Linked DNA regions of Homo sapiens: region 2 is linked to region 1. Evidence: promoter capture Hi-C in 16 types of primary human blood cells and fetal thymus (Javierre and others, 2016). All regions are on one chromosome and are shown on one strand. The core of a region is centred on a gene start or on the middle of the fragment in contact, and the rest is flanking DNA. Distances in the headings are between cores, read along the strand shown.

Region 1 (3,209 bases), core at 312-2,811:
GGATGTCTCCTTCTTCAAAAGCATCTTGTTAGTTGGTTATTTTTAGCAACATTTAACAACTGAAGAAATGTAAGGTAAAGGAAGCTTAGAAGACTTGCCAGAGGTTATACACTGGAGTGAACTGCAAACACTAGGTGTTCTGCTTGTGGGTCAGAGGTTCAAGGGTGAAGAATTGCCAGGGCAGAGGCTGGAGATGGGAGCTAAGAAATGTTCTACACTTTGCATCCTTTGTCACTGAGAATGATGACAGAGGTGGTGCTGGCTCCTACTGCTGCTCTGAAAGGCTGGGTTAAGAGGAAAGCGGAGGTGGGAGCAGCAGTTCTGCTTTTCATGACAACCAGGGAATAGGGGAGGTGGGAGCCAACAAGGGACCTACATGAACACCCAGTCTGTGTCTTCGTCTATATTACTCACTGTTTACTCCCAGGCTCTCACACCTTATCAGAGGGGAAAAGTAAACCTCCCACAAAACACCATTTGGTTCAACTACAGATGTATTTTGGATATCTTCAATCAACGCTTGATCCTGAAAAAATGCTTTCAAAGAATCTTCAACCAATGGCATACAAGGACCTACTCGGAAATCACAAAAGCCAAATAATGTCAAGCAAGTGTGTAAGAAGACAGCCCTGTATGGCAATACTAAAGAAAATTTTGCATTCTAACTACAAGGGGAAGGAAGAGTCAGCAGGGGTGTAACAAATGACACATGATAGTCACCCCAGAGGATAGCATAAATTGTACACAGTACAAATAGTACAGAAAGTATAATTTGCTTTAGTAATTCAGTTTTTCATTTGGTTTTCAAGACCTGTCAGGGATCAAGAAATTAATATAGACATATACTAATTTTGCATATATAAATTATTTGCAAAACCATTTGTGAAAAAGTTTCACAAATCATTCAATCTAGATTTAACAACTGTTATAAAACTATCCTGAAGCACCTGAAAACCAGTTGGACCAGGGTCAGAAAATCCAAAAAATTCATCAGGTCTTATCCAGAATTACTCTATCTAGTAGCAGTATTAATCCACCCCTCTATTTAGAGTTACACAGGCATATTTCAAGATAAATTATAAGAAAGGAAAGACTGGGTGACCCTCAAATCACTAATTTCAATCCAAAATTATTAAAATAGGGTATTTTAAACTCTATTTTGATGTTAAAGAGCGAAACGTCAACAAAACAGGTTTGGCAAAGGACTATTTATCAAACACAGTCACACAACGATTATGAAACCACATGATAAGATAGCACACAAAGAAAACATTGGCTATTTAACTACTCAGGAGGAAAAACTAGGTGTTCCTAGTTTTTCCTAGGTGGAAGGGGGAAGCAGGCTAAAAAGCAGTTTTTAGGGTTTCAGATATGTAATTGTGGCAGCAGGCACAGCATCAGGGTAAATCTTCCTTTTGACTTCCTCAGAACACCAGTTGAGATTTATGTAAGGTGGTATAATTTAGTTTAGAGAAAACTGAGATTGCATCAGTTTGGCCTCACCCTTGGCCTGACATTTTATCCTTCTCTCCAGAGATCTTGCTTGGACTGCCCTTAAGTACGCTGCTCCAGAGAACTCTGCTCTACATTGTCAGAAACCAGCTTTCAAGTAAGTTCTGTTGCTAGTTCCACATGGTAATTCCACAGTTAAGTCAGAAGGCATTTGAAAAGATGTATAACTTTGGATGGCTCTTTTCTGATTATAGGCTGAAGGGGGTTCTTTTCTCTTTGGTTTGCCTTTTGCTTTTAATAGCTTGACCATTTCTGGCTTCCACTGCATTGTAAGAGCTAAACTACAGGTTTGTCAGTCAGTGTTTCTCTCTCTGTCTCTTTCTCTCTCTCCCTGCTCCTACCCCCTCTTCTCTCCATTCTCCTCTCTCCATCTCTCTCATTTCCTAGTTACAAATCATGTTGTCTTACTGTCTTAAGAGCATCACTGATTTCATCCTTGTGCCACTGTCCCTATGCTCCCAAGATCACATTTCAGCATTTTAGGATACGTTTTTTGTTTCATTTTTAGAATACTTTTCAGAAGAGGTCATGATAAGCAAGACAATTTTACATTTCTGAGTTGAAAAAACTGTGCTGCTCTTCCAGAACAGTTTTGGTTTGTATTCTCAGTTTCAGGGGCTCCCCTGACTCTACATTTTAGGAACAAGAAGAGGTTAACATTGAGCAGGTTGTTCATGAACCGGCAGTTACCTTTACTACAGGAATCACTTTGGATTCAGGCTGAGAAGGCACTATAGCTCTTAAAATCACTATGTAGGGCAAGTGAAGAAGAAAGAAAAGAAAGAAGAAGAAAGTAAGGAGGAGGAGGAAGGAGGAGGTGGGAGAAAGAAGGAAGGGGGAGAAGCGGGAAGGGGGAGGAGGAAGAAGAGGAGGAAGAGGAGCAGGAAGAGGAGCAGGAAGAAAGGGAGGAGGTGAGGAAGGGAGACGGGGAGGAAGGGGAGGAGAAGCATGACCACCATTTTGACCTAAACTCATATCTTATCCACAAATAAATTCAAAATGGATCACAGACTTAAATATAAAACATAATGCTATAAAATTTTCAGAAAAGAAAAACAGGAGAGAATCTTCAGAACATACAGCTAGGCAAAGAGATCTTAGAATTCAGACCAAAAGCACAATTCATAAAAGGAGAAACTGATAAATTGAACCACATCAAAATTAAAACCTTTTGCTCTGCAACTCTGTTAACTGGATGAAAAGACAAACTACAGTCCGGGAGAAAATATTTGCAAATCACATATCCAACAAAAGACTAGAATGTGTACAATTCAACAGTAAAAACCTAAACAATTCAATTAGAAAATGGGCAAAAGATAGGAAAGGAGATGCCACTAAAGAAGATACACTATGGCTAATAATAAGCACATGAAAATGTTAAACTTCACTAACCATTAAGGAAATACAAATTAAAACCATAATGAGATATCACTACATACTTATCAGAATAGCTAAGATAAAAATAAAAAATATTGACACCACCAAATGACAATGCAGACAAACTGGATTACTCAGACTTTGCTGATGGGAATGTCAAATGTTACAACCATTCCAGAAAAGAGTATTGCACTTTTTTATAAAACTAAAAATACACTTATCTTTTGACCCAGCAATTGCACTCTCAGACAATTATCTCAGGGAAATGAAAACTCATGCTCATACAAAAACTTGTACATAAATGATTGTAGCATCTAGCA
Region 2 (3,209 bases), core at 354-2,853, 3.9 Mb before region 1:
ACTTTAGAATTCGACTAACACTAATGTCAGAAGTCTGTGTTTCAGTAACCATCTACAGATAATGGCACCCAGTTGTCCATGAGGAGATGCCATTTGCATCCTGTGTGGGTGACAGCTATGCTTTGATTCCTCTTGGATCTGTAGGACTACTTGCCTGTAAGACCTCATGTATTGTTCTGGGGGTCTGCCAGAGAGGGAAGCTAGCCTCAGAACACGGGGAAATGAGGCAAGGGGGCTTCAGAAGTGGTCATGTCAGGATTCTGGCTTGGCAAAGAGAAAGGCGTGGGTTGTTTTATGTTCCAAAGCTGGAGTTATTTCTTCTGTGACCCTGGCATGTCTTCATACTTAACAGACACCAATATTGTCCTTTCCTTGGTTTAGCCAAAACCGGGGGTTAGGGTGGGTAGTAGGAGGTGAAGGAGCTTTTCTTCAGTATGTATGAAGGGGATTGACGTAATATCTGCTTTCATAAACTGAATCTCCAGTGAGCCTTCCTTTAAAAAATAATTGTATGTAAAAACCACATAATGATTCTGTAATTACAGTGTGTTGGCACAGTTGTTAAATTATAAATTTAATAAGCTAAGATGAGCTCAGTAAGAGTATAGGCTTTTCACTGGAGTGAAAGGACATTACTTGATGAGATACAGCAGAGAGGAAACAATAGACTTTTTGTGTAGCTGCCTGAAACTTCTGCTAGGTGAAGGCAAGCCAATAAATGAAGAAGAAGGGATAATGGATTGCCTAACCTGTGAACTTGGTCACCATGTTCTTTGAAAACAAAGTGAAATGCAATGTGTTGTCTTTGGACTGTCTCACAGTGCTTACCCTACATCAGACAACCCTTGTCTAGTATTTCACGGATTTTGATTTGCTATTTATTTTGCATTTGCCTTCATGTTGCTATGTTTTAAGCCATGAAATGAATTATTTATTCTGTTTATACAAGCAAAAAAAAGTTAATAGCTCAAATAAAATGGGAATATATTTGTAATGGCATCATAGTATATGATGTGGTATTTTTATTCTTGCTTAAGAGGCTGAAGATTGAATTTGTATACTAATTCAGATCTGGAGAGAGAAGAAAGTAGATGGGGCTTATATACAAGCAGTCATTGAATTATTGATTTATATGTAGGTTTTCTACCTCAGGATGTTTTCTTTTTTGGAGGACACTGTTAAGTATTAACAATGTTAAGAAATACTTCTAGCTGGGCGCGGTGGCTCACGCCTGTAATCCCAGCACTTTGGGAGGCCGAGGCAGGCGGATCACGAGGTTAGGAGTTCAAGACGAGCCTGGCCAACATAGTAAAACCCTGTCTCTACCAAAAATACAAAAATTAGCTGGACATGGCAGTGCGTGCCTGTAGTCCCAGCTACTCAGGAGGCTGAGGCAGGAGAATCACTTGAACTCGGGAGGTGGAGGTTACAGTGAGCCGCGATTGTGCTACTGCACTCCAGCTTGGGCAACAGAGTAAGACTTCGTCTCAAAAAACAACAACAACAGCAAAAAAAACTTCTGATTAAGGATCTTGGCAAGTGGATTCTAGAATGGCAGCAATTCTCCATGTCCAGGAAACTAGAGAAGGAGGCGAGTCAGGATTATGGTGGGCTGTGTTACAGTTCTACTCAAAGGGTTTATCGGGAAGGCAGAGATTTGGCCCATCCTCCACTGCTGTCATTGCTGAAGTACAAAGTCATAATGCCTCCTCACTGTTTTCCTTGGAGCCCTGAGGTCCATACATACTCTCTGGGTTATCCATATAATTTTGCCTTTAGGCTTTTAGGCTCTCTAGCCAAGAATTCCTTTTTCAGTTAAGGAAAAGCAACTATAAGGAGCATGTCCCCTGGATGAATGCCATGTTACTCTTCCAGTTCTGGAAACGATCTGGCTCCAGGGTACCACCAGACCAGGCTTCGGCCTTGCCCAGATTTACCTCTGATCCTAAAGGCTCCTGAGAACTGGCCCTGTGTAGGGGGCTGCTTGCTGAGCTTTCTTGGGCTCTTTCTCCCAGGATTAATACAGTGCAGTGTCAAGCCAGAGTTCTGAAATGGGTCAGTAAAAGTTACAGGAGCTGTTCGAAAGGAAATTTGAGGTTATTATTGAGGAGGAAGGAGAGGGGGAGAAAAGAGGTATAATATTAGTTTTAATTTGTATGGTACTTCCCAGTATAATTTAATTAAATTCTCACCTTAAACGCCTTAAATAACTTAGGAGTAGAGAACCTTGCTTTTGGGGACCTATTCAGAAGCAGAAAAACTCTTCAGATATGTTTGGAGCAGAACTGTAAATGCTCTGGCTTAGTAAATTTGTATTTTTTTTCTTATTACCCTTTTTCATTCTTAGGCTTTCTGTGTAGGTATGATTGTCTGATAGTGGCTTCCAAAAATTTTTAAAAAGGTCCTAATTCACAGAAGTTGTGAATGTGAACTTATTTGGAAAAAGGGTCTTTGCAGATGTGATTAAGTTAAGATCTTGAGATGGGAAATTATCCTGGATTATCCAGTTGGGTCCTAAATGCAATTACAAGTATCCTTTTAGGTGGCAGAGGGAGATTTGATATGCAGAGGAGAAGCATGTAAAGATGGAGGCGGAGATTGAAGTCATGTGGCCACGGCAAGGAAATGCTGGTACTGCCAGATAGACACTGGAAGAGGCAAGGACTGGATCCCTAGAGGCTTCGGAGGGAGTGCTGCCTTGCTGACACCAGGATTTCAGCCCAGTGATCCTGCTTTTAAATTTCTAGTCTCCAGACTTTTAGAGAATAGATTTCATTTGTTTTAAGCCACCAAATTTTGGTAATTTGTTATAGCAGCCACATGAAACCAATGCAGGAGGGAAGAGAAATAAAAACGAAATGGAAAGCAACTTGTTCAGGAGGACCCTACCACCAAACTTAATTTTCATGAAAGAACACCCTGTTGTTTACTTACATGTAATATCAGCTTTTACTACAAGCCAGGCTTAGTTGAATTCTGATGGTCAGATTAACTTTCCAAAAGCAGCCCTCTAATCGTGTCATGTGTGTTTGTCTGTATTCCCAACATAACTATAAATCTGGGATCGTGTTTGGCTTGTGTATAATTGTATCCACATTACTTGGCATGTAGTAGGTTCTCAATAAATATTTTCCAAATGAGTACATGCTTAAGTATGAACATTTTAGAAATCAGGACTCCAATCTGCTTTTCCGGCTATGTTTCTCCCT

Evidence for each region. The method cuts DNA at HindIII sites, captures the fragments that hold promoters and counts their contacts. A CHiCAGO score of 5 or more calls a contact.
Region 2: a contact is called between a fragment that was not itself captured here and the fragment with the promoter of NCOA7-AS1 in region 1, in 1 of 17 cell types (M0 macrophages). The highest score is 6.0, in M0 macrophages.

The regions. Positions count from the first base shown.
Region 1 is chr6:125,817,210-125,820,418 of GRCh38, reverse strand. It overlaps NCOA7-AS1 (NCOA7 antisense RNA 1), which reads left to right and starts at 1,561. Exons shown (of 3, transcript NR_126386.1): 1 at 1,561-1,609. The region is part of intron 2 of NCOA7 (nuclear receptor coactivator 7); the gene reads right to left. RefSeq lists an enhancer at 1,835-2,336. The HindIII fragment of the contact is 4,548 bases long and covers 87-3,209 here.
Region 2 is chr6:129,679,376-129,682,584 of GRCh38, reverse strand. The region is part of intron 1 of ARHGAP18 (Rho GTPase activating protein 18); the gene reads left to right. Among named protein-coding and RNA genes, the nearest start is that of ARHGAP18, 29 kb to the left of the region's middle. The HindIII fragment of the contact is 6,181 bases long and covers 1-3,209 here.